Linked DNA regions of Homo sapiens: regions 2, 3 and 4 are each linked to region 1. The links are contacts of gene promoters, found by promoter capture Hi-C in blood cells and fetal thymus (Javierre and others, 2016). All regions are on one chromosome and are shown on one strand. Each heading gives the region's core, a stretch centred on a gene start or on the middle of the fragment in contact. The rest is flanking DNA. Distances are from core to core; before and after follow the strand shown. Region 1 holds the start of KIAA0408. Region 2 overlaps LAMA2 (laminin subunit alpha 2). Region 3 has its middle 130 kb from the start of LAMA2. Region 4 has its middle 160 kb from the start of LAMA2.

Evidence for each region. Contacts are between HindIII fragments. The CHiCAGO score rates a contact against its expected background, and 5 or more counts as called.
Region 2: a fragment that was not itself captured here is called in contact with the fragment with the promoter of KIAA0408 in region 1 in 3 of 17 cell types (naive CD8 T cells, non-activated CD4 T cells and total CD4 T cells); the score reaches 10.5 in naive CD8 T cells.
Region 3: a fragment that was not itself captured here is called in contact with the fragment with the promoter of KIAA0408 in region 1 in 1 of 17 cell types (naive CD8 T cells); the score reaches 5.4 in naive CD8 T cells.
Region 4: a contact is called between a fragment that was not itself captured here and the fragment with the promoter of KIAA0408 in region 1, in 1 of 17 cell types (naive CD8 T cells). The highest score is 5.3, in naive CD8 T cells.

The regions. Positions count from the first base shown.
Region 1 is chr6:127,457,576-127,461,131 of GRCh38, reverse strand. It overlaps KIAA0408, which reads left to right and starts at 1,743. Exons shown (of 6, transcript NM_014702.5): 1 at 1,743-1,957. All of the region lies in intron 7 of SOGA3-KIAA0408 (SOGA3-KIAA0408 readthrough), which reads left to right. The HindIII fragment of the contact is 12,466 bases long and covers 1-3,556 here.
Region 2 is chr6:129,361,823-129,365,378 of GRCh38, reverse strand. The region is part of intron 32 of LAMA2 (laminin subunit alpha 2); the gene reads right to left. Among named protein-coding and RNA genes, the nearest start is that of ARHGAP18, 350 kb to the left of the region's middle. The HindIII fragment of the contact is 226 bases long and covers 1,594-1,819 here.
Region 3 is chr6:128,748,902-128,752,457 of GRCh38, reverse strand. No RefSeq gene overlaps it. Among named protein-coding and RNA genes, the nearest start is that of LAMA2, 130 kb to the left of the region's middle. The HindIII fragment of the contact is 1,010 bases long and covers 1,248-2,257 here.
Region 4 is chr6:128,718,280-128,721,835 of GRCh38, reverse strand. No RefSeq gene overlaps it. Among named protein-coding and RNA genes, the nearest start is that of LAMA2, 160 kb to the left of the region's middle. The HindIII fragment of the contact is 708 bases long and covers 1,538-2,245 here.

The DNA of each region.
Region 1 (3,556 bases), core at 494-2,993:
TGGCCAGGCTTGTCTCGAACTCCTGACCCCATGTGATCCACCTGCCTCCGCCTCCAGAAGTGCTGGGATTACAGGTGTGAGCAACCACACCCGGCCAGAAACAATGTTAAGACAATTCTGTATTGATGTTTTTGTGCAACTCCCTCCTCCCTTTCCCTCTCTCAAAGAATCTTCTTCCTAGCCTCATAAGCATGGAGGCAGACATGAGCTACCCTTTATTGTGTGCTTGGCGCTATATATATTCCCTCATATTCTTATGGCCTCTTAAAGTAAATATAATTATGTCTTTAAGGAAGAATCAGGGTCTGCAAGATCACACAGATAAGTGGTGGCAGCAGAATTGAAACTTAGATCTCTATGACAAAATTCCATGGTTTGCAATCAGACAAAACAGTTCAAACCCGTTTCCTCCACATGGGTGCATTTCTATGAACTTTTGCATGATGCTTTACCACAATGAGCCTTGCTTGGGTTTTATCAGTAAGATCAGATTATCAGTATCTAGAGACAGAATTGCTCTGAGGGTGAACTCAGATAAAGGTCTGTTCAAAGTACTTAGCACAGAACCTTGCAGAGGGTTGCCCCTCAGTGAATAATCACTATTATTACTATAACTATCACTGTTATTGTTGTTATTGCTGTTGAGATTATGATGTCAGGCTTTCCAGACACAGAGTATGGTTTCATTTGATTGTCCTACATGTATTAAAGTCCTACTGTGAGCAGGTTACTATTACTAAACTTTAGCTCCTCATGAAATGTTTATCTGGAAGCAGGTGAAAATAATGTGAGTGAATATGTATTACTTTAAAGACCACACCAGGGAAGCTCTTCAGACTTGAAGATAAGACCTTATTGTTTAAACTTGTGTATTTGCTAAGTTAGGCAAAAAATTGCTCTAGAGACTTTTTTGACTAAATTAAACCAAATATCATCAGATGCATGTGTGTACAAAGCCACAATAAACCTGAAAATGTCGCTGGGGAGGCAAGATCTCCTAGCATTTCAGAACAGGCTGATTTGATCATGATTTAGAGAGCTTTTCCATACACTTAGGCTGCTTTCTCTTCCTATGGCTGCAGCACACTTTAGTGGAAAATAAGCCCATAGGTATCTCATTTTTGGGGTGTGTGTGTGTGTGTGTTTTGTCCTCCCACAATAAGAAATCTCATCCTTTCCCATGGGCTCTGATTTTCTCTAACGTAAAGACATCGCTACTACTGTAGATAAAAGCAACACACTGTCAGAATCACAGAGAGCTAAGAGGTTGGACTTTATGTTCCATTTCTATTTTATTTGAAGATAGAAGTTTGATAACTTTCACAGATCTTTTGAGAGTGCATAATATATATAATTATGCTACACATATTGTTCTGCCACATCCAGATGCAAACTTCTAAAGGTGCAGCAGAGTACATCCTGCCACCAGCTGAGAAGGAGAAAGAATTATGGAAGGAGGGAGATAATTCTTGCCTATAAAAAAATGAGTTTACTTTCCTAATAAAATAAATCTAAAATTGGCCATTGTCATTGTATGATGTTAACAACCAGCTCTTTTGGCAAGTTTGAAAATACTGGGCTCCATTATAAAAGCTAAAAATGTCCTGGACCTGGAGTTGTTTACCCAGAGCATGAGCTGCTCTAAAGTTACAGAGCTCTGGTTGGAAGAGGTGGCTTGAAGGCCGCCTCCAAGTAACTGACGTCACAGTAGTCTCAGCTGCTGCTGTGACACTAAGCTGAGCAGCTTTTTGACTTGTAAAAGTGGTGAAGGTTTCAAAGGGACTTGTCAGTACTGCTCTGTGGAATGGTTGGACTTATTTTGCATCCCCTTTTCTTGTAAAGAATCGAGATTCACCGAGCTGAGACTTTTCTCTTTAAGACAGCTAGCCATCCACTTTCTTCCACTGCTAATTGACCAGTGGTCGAGCATCCATAGGATTTCTCCCCAGTGTGAAAGGTATGTTTCTTTCCGGCAAGTTTACAAGCAAGTGACTAATTATGGCAGGATACAAAGGGGCTGCTGTTGAGATGTTTTAAACTATGGATACTGTTTAAGTGGAGTGTAATTTCAACATCTGTCTCTGCTGTTGTCTGTGTCTGGGCTTAAAAACAGTGGGCGGGGTGCATAACAGATTGTACTGACTCCTAGGAAAAAGGCTGTTCAGCTGCTCAGGGTGGATTTCCCAACTGTGGACTGACAGTACCATCCGCTCTTTGAGACTGTTTTTCCAACACTGCTTCTCAGTTGTTTGAAAAGCACTTTGCCCATCATTGATTTTCACTAAGTATATTTATTCAAATGTGATTTTTTTTATTCATATAAAGACTTTTAACATTTGCAAATTAAAGGTCACAATCCTGGAGACTTGGTATTTGAAAATTGCGGTGAAAAATAAATTTTAGTTTTATCTAAGGTGGTGGTGGACTCACTGTAGAGTTAGTGTTTCTGTAATTTGAGCTGAAGTCTATGCCATTCATAATTGAATAATCTACGTTTAGGAGGGAAACTTACCACTATGTCTTTTGTTCACGATGGTTAGTTTTAGACATTTGTTTACTCAAACCAAATGTTTGCTTTTAAAGTTTGCATTTTATAAGTAAAATCAGTGTGCATACAGCTTGGATGTTTTCTAATTTGAGTAAATAACTGTAAAGAAAACAAGGAAGAAGATAATTAAATGAAACGGTAAAGTTGATTCATTCGGAATTGCATGTGGTAGTGTCTCTTTGACCTTGTTGGAGCATGAGGAATGTGCTAAATCAGCAATACACAGCAATGAAAAAAATTTCCCTTTTACTCTAACAAAATCAAATCATGGTGGTCTTTGGAAAGATTCAATTGCAAGTGAACAATAGAGAGGAATGAGATTTATTAATTCATTGAAATAATTCAAGTGATTATAATAGCCTGGAGAAAGGGATAGAGAATTTAGGAGGTAAATGGTACATTACTCTGATAGGTTATAAGCTGGGGAATTCCTAATCCATCAAAGTTAAGCAGAAGCAAAACATCTTCAGGCCAAATGAGTCTTCTAGGAATTGTGAGATTAGCAGTACCTACTGTGTGTGGCATTTCTATTGGAATATGTAACCTCTTATAAATGAAAAATCTTTAATTATGTGAAAAGTGATATGTTTAGCAAAAGGAAATAAGGACAGCAAGAAACAAGTACTCTAAACAATAATCTAAAAAGAGAGAAGTAGCAATGGAGCAGCTGCCCCTAAGGAACGCTGTTTAGTTTGTTTGGATGCAGTCCAGTTTTCAATGGGCGAGTTGGAGGTTGAAAGGGTAGTGACCCAGGTGTCCTAAGAATGGAGCACCCCTCAGAGAAAGAATTGCTGCCATGACCAAACTGAGGCTAATTTGGGGGTGAAAATAATTTCTTGTGAGACTTGTGTGTTACTCTTAAACTTTGCTTACTGGTAGGGCCGGAAGGCTAGCAGAACTATTTGCCTCCCATCACCATACTTATGCAACCCACTCACAACTCTTTATAATTCTGGCTTTCAGCCCTGGAAAGGGGAAGTAAGTTAAAAGGGATTATGCAATGCTGGT
Region 2 (3,556 bases), core at 457-2,956, 1.9 Mb before region 1:
AAAAAATAAAATAAAAAGTCAAAATAAAAATAACTTTTCTTTCTATAGTGTTTTCTTATGATAATATTTATTGACTTATTTATTTGCCAACTGTTCCTCTTTATCCCTTCAGTCTATTACCACCCATGATTAGATGCAGTCTCACAAATCCCTACTTTGATGATTAACCTCTTTCAGTCTTATAGATAAATAATTGCTAAAGGCTAGAAAAACTATATTCTTTAAGTAGCCAAGAATGCTAATATTCTACCAGATATGGTTTGGATCTGTGTCCCCATCCAAATCTCATATTGAAATGTCATCCCCAATACTGGATATGGGGCCTCGTGGGAGGTATTGAATCACTGGAGTGGTTTTAATGGCTTAGCACCACCGCCCTAGTGATGTTCTCATGACAGAGTTCTCATAAGACCTGGTTATTTAAAAGTGTGTGCCACCTCCAGCCCCCACTTCCTCCTGCTCTGCCTGTGTGAAGATGCCTGCTCCAGCTTTGCCTTCTGCCATGAGTGAAAGTTCCCTGAGGCCACCCCAGCCATGCTTCCTGTACAGCCTGATGGAACCATGAGCCAATTATACCTCTTTTCTTTACAAATTGCCGAGCTTCAGGCATTTCTTTATAGCAATACGAAAATGGACTAATACACTCACCATAATATTTTTGGCCATCAAAGAGGTGCTATTCAAATTTGGTGGTAGGGGCCAGGATAGGTGGTAGAATTGGTAGAGAGACAAATGGATTGTTGACTCTTCATTATGGAATAGATCTCATAAATAGTCGTATAATTTCCAAAATTAACATATATTGAATCTTTTAGCAGATTTAAAAAACATGTATATTTTTAGTTTTGCATTGCAGAGTAATGAGGTGTATCTGCACGCCAAGGAGCAGGAACTACTGCATTTATAATATACTCTCATGTATACAGTTACAATTTCTTACATTCTGCAGATAGAGGTATCAATGCTATATACATGTTAGAATAGGGGAAAATACATAGCATGGAAAATACCGAGAATTGGAGCAGCTCTGGATCATGCCCAAACTTGGCAAGAATTCAATTAGGTCTCTAAACAGCAGTCCCCTGAGCTGCTTAATGGAGAGAAAACCATTAACTGGTGCTTGTAAACAAAGAGAAGGAGGACGGAGAGTGATTTTTTGATAGGACAGCAGCTAGAGGTGAGTTACAATATCACTTCACAGGGATTAAACTGCCCTGGCAGGGCTTTTAATAAATCAGCTTCTTGCAGGTGACACCTGCAGCTTCTTGCAGGTGACAACTGTAGAGCGTCACCTGCAGGGGCTTTGCAAGCTCCTGATGCTTCACAAGCTGAATGAACAAAGAGGCTTTGGAGGCCAGAGCAGAAGTCTGGAACTAGGGCTATATCTCTTACTCTTCTCCTAGCCAGAATGAAACCAAATTTGCACTGCATGGAAACCAAGTAAAAGATTATTTTGGCTTCATAGCCCCGTTCAATGCAAACTTCAACAGACTTGTCCACATTAAACAATTAGAGAAAACACAACATAGAACTCAGTTAAGTGCCAAATTGACTGTGTCTAAACACCAAGATCCACAGTCTGGTTCTCAAGCTTTAGTGGGCCTCAGAACCACCAGTAGGACTTTCGGAAATCCTAGAGGGCTGGTCCACACCCCCTAGTATTTCTGAATCAGGAGGTGATTTGATCACCTGGTTTCTCTTAGTCTCTGACTGAGAATGTGCTTTTCTAACAAGCTCCCAGGTGATATTGCTACTGTTGGTCTGTGCACCACACTTTGAGTAGCAATCAGACCAACAGTTTTGGCACCACCTGGAAGCTTATTAGAAATGTATAATCGGGCTCTACCCCAGATCTAGGAAATCAGAATCTGCGTCCCACATTATCTCTGCACATTAGAATGTGACAACATTGGTGTGGATCAGTGGTTCTCACCTTTGGCTGCCCATTGGAATCACATGAACATTTATAAAATACAGATGCCTGGGCTCTTTCCCTCCTCACCACCACAGAATATGATTTTTGATGGGTCTGTGGTAAGGTCTAACCATCAGTATTTCTATTTTTATTTTTTTCTGAGACAGGGTCTTGCTCTGCCACCCATGCTGGAGTACAGTGGTGTGATCATGACTCACTGCGGCCTCAAACTCCTGGGCTAAAGTGATCCTCCTGCCTCAGCCTCCCGAGTGGTTGAGACTACAGGCACATGCCACCACATCCAGCTAGTTTTTTAACATAGAGATGGGGTCTTGCTGTGTTGCCCTGGCTGATGTCAGACTCCTGGCCTCAAGTGATCCTCCCACCTCAGCTTCCCCAAGTGCTGGGATCATAGGCGTGAACCACTGTATTTTAAAAATATTCCAGTAATTGAAAAACCATGTAGCCAAAGGATAAAACCACTGGACCAGGTGATAAATTATAGGGATGCTCAATCTTCAAGGGAGCAAGGATTTGGAAGAGGTCCTTTTGCTTGCTGTCTTCTCTACCTAGAATTCTTCTCCCTTGGTCTTCTCCCACCTGGTTCCTAGGTGTTCAGGTCAAGTGCTCAAGTGTCACTTTTTCAGAGAGCAAGTCCCTGATGATTCTAAAATTACTGTTACCTGAAACTCCCCACCACCCCCAGCCCTATACCCTGCGCCAGTCACTACTGCATTTCCTTTGCTTTCTTAACACTTATGCCTGTTTGGGCTACATTATTACTTAATTTATTTATATATTCTTTCTTCCTCGTTAAAGAAGGGACCTTAAACACCTTGGTTATGGTGCCTAGGAAAGGGTCTTGTACACAGTTAATATTCAGTAAATATTTGTGGGCTAATATTTTTGTGAGAGAAGGGTATCAAAACACTTTGGACAAAGAGAATGGCAAGGGTTAATGTTTGAGCATGGCATGTGCCCAAGTACATGAAATAGTGAGAAGATCAGGGAGGTAGAATGTTAGGAGAGAAGAGAGAGGGGAAGAGGGGAAGAGGGAAGAGGTTGGGGTTGGCCGGAAGAAAACTTCTGAATGTGAGAACAAGATAGAAAACCTCACAGATGTGTGAGGAACAGGAGAATACATTAAAAACAATGGTTTAGAGACAGAAAGAGAACTATCTTGTGATTGCAGAGGCAGAGACTGTCCGATCAACAAGAATGACTATTCAGATACCTGCCTGAAGGATTTCAGTTTTGACTCAGGAAAGGGAGAGATGGACGGGAAGAAAATCAGCACAAAACTTTAGGAGGAAAGAACACCATGACTGACAGATCAAAGCGATGATCATTTCTGGGGACAATTAAAAATGGTTACTACTGGCTGGGTGTGGTGGCTCAGGCCTGTAATCCAAGCAGTATGGGAGGCTTGAGATGGGCAGATCACTTGAGGTGAGAAGTTTGAGACCAGCCTGGCCAACATGGTGAAACCCCATCTCTACTAAAAATACAAAAATTAGCCAGGTGTGGTGGCATGTGCCTCTAGTCCCGCTACTCGGGAGGCTGAGGGAGGAGTATCACTTGAACCCAGGAGGTAGAGGCTGCAGTGAGCCTAGATCATGCCACTGCACTTCAGCCTGGGAA
Region 3 (3,556 bases), core at 503-3,002, 1.3 Mb before region 1:
TCTAGAAATCAAAACTAAAATATCTCAAAAAAAGGTTTTTAATTTTCAGCAACTAGGAATACAATAGAAATTCTTCAATCTGGAGAAAGACATCTGCAATAAAGCTATAGTTACTTAAGTAAAATATCAAAGCCTTTCACCTAACCTGTGAAACAAAGCAAAGATGCTCACTCTCAATACTTCGACTCAAAATTTTGCTGGAATCTACAAAACAAGATACTAGAATGAATAAATAAATTTAGCAAAGTCACAGTCTACAAAGTCAATATAAAAAATATATCCTATTTCTCTATATTAGCAAGAAACAATTGTGAAAAGACAATTAAAAAAACACTTATGTTAGCATTGAAAAACACAAAATACTTGAGAAGAAATTCAAGATAAGATATGACAGTCCCACACAATGAAAACTACTAAATTTTTCTGAGAATTAACAAACAGAAAGATAGTCTGTGTTCACTGAGGTGAATGATGTTGTGAGAGGCTACCACAAGGCAATTTCTTATTCACTTCCCTGGTTCTGATGGCATGGGATTCTCCTTGCCCTTCCTCTGCCTCTATGTCCCTTGCTTCCCACCGCACTTCCTTTGGCACAGCTGCAGACTATAAAATTATCTAACACATAATTGTTGCTCTCAAGTAATTTAAATCTTTGCAAAGACCAAAGTTTTCTTGATTCTGGCAATAAGATGTATATGTTAATTTTTCTAGTGTTGGCCCTGAAGGCAAAATAAATATCTCAAAGGTAGGTCTTCATCTACTTCCTCTATTGAAAATCTCCATTGTTAAATCTAAATTAAAAACCTGTATCAAACAAAAGGAAAATCAACAGATTATTTGCAGTTTTAATGATTATTGTAAAGTTGGAAATAATTCATTTGCTACCAAGCTAAAAAATGCAACTGCTTCATTCAATAATAACCAAGGACAAAATGAATTGTAACAAAAATTTAATATATATTTGACTAGATCTAATTAGCATTTAATATGATATTTAAAATGTTTTAGTGATGTTTTTATTGGGTCATATTGGAAGGTGCCTTTTGAATAGGAACTCAACTTGAGTGAATAATCCTGCACTTTATAGGCACAATTTTTCAGCTCTTATTTAATAAAAATTTCAAAAATTAGACAATTGGTAAGATATTTTCATTAAATCTAAATGGGCTCAGAAAACTATCAAAGGCATAAGCTTAGTCTATCAGATTGAGCAGTTTCTAAATGGCCACCTCATCTGATGCTAAGCTTCAAATAGATGAATGTAATTGTTTTAAATGTTGCTACTTGTAAATTAAAACACAAAAGTAGTATCTATATTAAATGGTTAATATGAATTATCAAGGGTATATATTTAATTTAGATTTACTATTACAGGCATATTTTCCTGTGTTATATTATCACATTTCACAAAATTTGTTTTCCAATCAATTGCTTGATACTATAGCGTGTTTCTAACGTATGCAAGAGTCTGTGAGTTTGAATTTATATTGTCAAAATAACCATCTCTATCCCTTGGAGGTATGGGTTTAGGTCACAAATTTGAGGACCACAATTATCATTTGTTTTTCCCACTGTTAAAGTAGAGAGATAAGTGATTTTGAGAAATTAAGCGGTTCCGCACAATTGCTTTAAATATGAACATTTTTATTTGCTTCATACCCCATCCATGTTTAAGAGAAGTGAGTTTCAAAAGACTAACCTAAATCTTTAAAGTTTGTGTGACTTCAGGACTCATTGCTGTTGAAGGCAAAATTAAAATACCAAAAAGTTCCTTTTGAACAGGAACTTAAGTGAATAAACCTTGTGCCTTATAGATTTAAGTTCCACATATAAAAGAGCAAATATCTAAATGCAAAGGGAAAAAACAGCAGTTAAGGGAGGTCATTTCAAACAACTGTCATAAACAACAATCATCATTTATGAAACTTAGTAAAATAAAACACTCTCACTAATACCTTAATTTCTAATGTCTTTAACTAACTTAAATTCACTGTAGACAGATTAAAATACAAACTATTTCTCTCAAGTAAAATGTATCTATTTTTTCAAAATATATTATATAATTGCGGCTGTATCATTGACTTTTCAACTCATGCTTCTTATTTTAGTGGTATGTACTCCCAGATGAGTAATTTAACGGAAATATTTTATATAATAGCACAAAATACAGGACATTTCCCTCCCCGTACCATAGATATCTTTTCAAGTTGATTTAATTATCAATGCATTATAAGGTTATTATGATAGGAGGTAAGCTTTGTTTATAAATTTTAAAACCATCAGATTATTTTATTCATTCAAAAAACCTTTAGTGACAGAATTGATTAACTGGCCAACAAAAATTCATGATTTCTCTCAGGAATGTAAGCATTTCTATTGGGAAGCAGCTGTCTATGCAAAGTCTACAATTCCAATCCTTTGTGAATAAAAGTGATGTATGCCACTTCAGGCTGAGAAACAACAGCTCTGGTTTATTCTCACTCTTTTCTGACCTGCCAGATAAATTCAGAGGACTTCAAGGTTCTAAAGGATATTGAAGATACAGAATGGAAAGAGTTTAAGGTCTTGAATCACTGGATACAAGGCTACTTATCAACCAAGAACACCTATATTAAACTATTACTTGAGCAAAAAAGAAAAAAAATCTCTACTTACATAAACTCACCAAAAGAAACAATATTTTGCTTTGTTTCTTTCTAAATTTTATAGCTTCTCTATTTTTTTTTTTTTTTTTTTTTTTTGGCAGAGTCTCAGTCTGTCACCCAGGCTGGAGGGCAGTGGAGGGATCTTGGCTTGCTGCAACCTCCACCTCCTGGGTTCAACCGATTCTCCTGTTGATTCTCCTGCTGATTCTCAGCCTCCCAAGTAGCTGGGATTACAGGGGCGTGCCACCATGCTCAGCTAATTTTTGTATTTTTATTAGAGACAAGGTTTTGTCATGTTGGCCAAGCTGATCTCGAACTCCTGACCTCAGGTGATCCACCCACCTCAGCCTCCCAAAGTGCTGGAATTAAAGGCGTGAGCCACCACACCGGCCTAAATTTTATAGCTTCTGATATTATCTTAACTAATGTAGATATTGGTAATTTGAAGTGGGATACATCCTTTGAAAAATGCCTTACATGTGTCACACTGGCCTAGTGATCGGGTAGTAGACAATGAAGAAATTGATAACAGAAATGGAAAATATGCAAGAGTCTATTAGGCAATGGCAAAAGATTGGGTAAAACTGTCAACATCAATACATTGAAAGTCATAGAGCTTGCAGCACTAGATGAAAGGTTAGAAAAAGTCAGAATGTTGATATAGTAGTATAAATTTTTTATTAGCCCCCTATGATATTTTGTATTGCTGTGTATTTTAATTTTTCACATATTTTAACAACTACAAATAATTACTATTATTGTTTTAAGAATAGTATGTGATTGGATTTATCCACATATTTATCTTTACCTCTTGAATTTACGTGTTTCAATCTCAAATTATTTTACTTCTGCCTGAGGAATTTCTTAAGTGTTTGTGTTCATTCAGATCTGCTGGTGGTGACTTCTCATTC
Region 4 (3,556 bases), core at 642-3,141, 1.3 Mb before region 1:
TTTTGTTGTGGTTTCTATTTTTCTATCCCATTATCACAATAGTTTCTCTAATACATAAGCATGGCTGTATTCTTGAAGAAAACCTTGATTTTGAAGTCATATCTTATAAGTAAGATTTGTCATGAGTGCGTGTGTATATATGAATGATTCCTTTCTGGGTCAGGTTTAGCTTATCAGTGTTTTGCTAGTGTCAACATAGCAATAAGATTTCCATCTTATCCTGTTTTCAGAAGCAGTTATTAAAAACTTAAGAATTTTCCCTTGCCTAAAGGTTCAGAAGAGCCTGGTCATAAAATCACATAATCCTGGTAACTTGCTTAGATGCTGGTTTCTTCTATAATTATTACTGTGTTCAGGTTTTCTTCTTCAGATGAGTCAAAATCAGTATACGTATTTTCTAAAAGGCAAATTCAACAATCCAGTTTTTCAGTTTTGTCAAACACTTGTTTAAAATATTCTAATGTTTTCTCTGCTGTTCATATTTTTAGAGTCCATTTCTTTATCATAATAACAATACTTCTATTTCGGATCTCTATGTCAGGCACTGTATTAATTTAACTCTCAAAATACCCTTTTGAGATAGGTACCACATTTTTTTCCCATTTTTCAGATGAGGAAATTGAGTGGTAAATCATTATGTTACTTGTCCGATATCAGACAGAGAACAAGTGGCCTAATAAGAGTTCGAACTCAAAGCCTGTGTTCTTAACTCATACCAACAAAAAGCTGGCAATTCTTTAGGTTCTTTCAATTGCAAATCTAACTCTTTTACTTTGTGAAAGGAAGAAGTTCTTTTGTAAGACCTCTGCAGCACAAGTTTCAGGGATAGGTCTTCTCTCTAGAACAAGTCCCCAGACATTTTCTTATATATCTACATAAGAATTTTTAGGTTGAGAATCAAAATTTTCATTATAAATATAGGAAGTTACAAAAGATACCTTTTTTCTTATTGTAAATATGTAACGTTAAAAATAAAACTGTCATGTCACTTTAAATTGTATGTAGTGGGAATCTAAATACCATAATAATTTGACACCCACTACAATCCATTTTTAAAAAGGCTCTTCTAAGTAAAAATTTTACACCATTCTTTTCTTTTTATTTATCTTTCACTTGCCCTATAAAACTTTATACTAAGCTAATACATATTTTTATGTTTGGGCATCTTCTATTATCTTTTAACATATTTTTATAAGAAAACTATACAAACTTAAAGTTTAATTTCCTTTGACTATAAGTTTCTAAGTATTGAATTACTTTTTTCTGGACTAAATTATTTCTATAATTATTAGTTGTATGCAGGTGACTTAAACAACAAATTTGCAAATGTTGATGATTTTCAATCATGAAAATGTAAACTTTACTTGAAAATGTTTTTCTTAATGAAATAGATGGAACTGAAGCTTTACTGATTTCTCTTATTTTTTCTATTAATTCACATATTCATCAATGAATGTTATTATTGTCAATTGAAATATAGTTCAGCATCCATATAATCCCTATTTTCATTGTCATAGATGCAAGTGCTGAGAAAGCTTGTTCACATAAGGTAACAATAGGTCCTAGAGGGAGTTTTGATATAGCAATCGTATTCAGTTCTTTGAATTCATTATTGGGTATATGACAAAAATTACTTAGCGATATTTCTTCAAAAATTATTTTTAAAGATTAATCAATAGAAATTCTATTAGGTTCTCTTTAAATTTTATTTAATTCGGTGAAAAAGAAATCCCCTGATTTGCAAGAGGATTTGTTACCCAATCATTAGGCATTCACTTTCTCAGCACCAACATCGGTATTTCTATTTGTCCATTGTTTGGCATTCTGGTTAAGTTTTACACACTAATACAATGCACCATTGTAATACTCAAGAATACTGATGGAGGCATATGCCTCTCTCTTGTAAAGAAGAAAAAGGTTACTATGAAAATGAAAGTGAGAAAAGCATATTTTTAAAAAACTGAACTCCTTTCAAACAGATGGATTTTAGGCTAAAGAACGTATGAATAATGTGAATATAGAAACTCCCTGGCAGAGGTGTCCAATCTTTTGGCTTCCCTGGGCCAAATTGGAAGAATTGTCTTGGGCCACACAAAAAATACACTAATGATAGCTGATGAGCTTTAAAAAAAAAAATCACAAAATCATCTCATAATGTTTTAAGAAAGTTTACAAATTTGTGTTGGACCACATTCAAAGCCATCCAGGGCTGCAGATGGCCCATGGGCTGCAGGTTGGACAAGCTTGCTAAAATACCTATGAATGCAAGTAACATTTGGAGTTACATCCCCAGATGACCACTGCTCTGTGCTTTAAACACTCTCTTTTTCTTAACAATTTTAAATGTCAAATTTCCAGGAAAAACTCACCCAAACTGGACCACCAGTTTGAGGTGAGTTCACTAATCCTTCCTCTATGAATCACAGTTACTTGGATAGGACTACATATCATACATGGGGCTACCAAGCATCAGTTGCTATACAATAGAAAGCAGTCCCAGAAAAGGTGGAATTTTGAGCTGAACCACCCTCACAAGAGTTACCTACAACAGGTATTCATGCATCTTCTCTTATTCTTCTTCAAATTTGCCAATTTTAATTGTATTTATATTTAATTCCTGTTTATAGTTTGTTTCATCCTTTCTACCAAATTATTTAACCTTACTTTGTTAATCCTTATACTTTTGTTTGGTTTCTTTTTAGTTACTTACCTTCAACATTGAAAAAAAAATACACCTCCTGTTATGAATGTCCCCCCACCAAGTACCACTATGCTTATATTCTATAGGTTTTAATATATAGTAACCTTAATGTCATTAATTTCTAAGTAATCTGTAATTTCGATTTGCAATGTCACTGGCAGTTTAGGAAAGTGTTTTTACAGCTTTCGTATGGAGATTTTTCATCTTTTTCCAAGATCACTAAATATCTTCCCTGCTTATTTATACTTGCCTATTGAAAAATCCCAACAGAGCATCCACACGGTCATTTTAGAATATGAATATTTCATAGCATGCTCTCCACAAAACTCTATAATAGATTTGCATCAACTTTAGAATAAATTCCAAACTTCCCATGGGTTAGATTACTCTCCTTGGTTTGGTCCCTCCTACCTTCCCATCCTGCTCTGCCGCAATCTCCTCTTTACCCTCCATGCAGACAACACAGTCCAGCTTATTCTCCCTGAAGTACAAGCTTGCTACCATCTGAAGGACTTGGCAATTACTGTTTACTTTGCCTGGAATCTTCTTTCCCCAGATCCTTACCTGATATGCTCAATCATTTCTTTCAGGTTTCTGCTTAATTGTGACCTCTTTAGGGACAGCTTCGATACTCCCTCCATCATTTGTATTAAAAAGAGGGGCGAAAGAGAAATAAGGGAAGAATATATATAATATTTGTTTATATAGAGAACATCTCTCAGAGAAGGAGGGAATCTGGCAGGCGTGTTGCTGAGGTTAAGAGACTTTAACTACATGGCCTGGGATACCTTCTGAATCTTATTCCACATGACTAAATCATCTATTTTAGATTATTTTTAGAGACTATGTAACAAC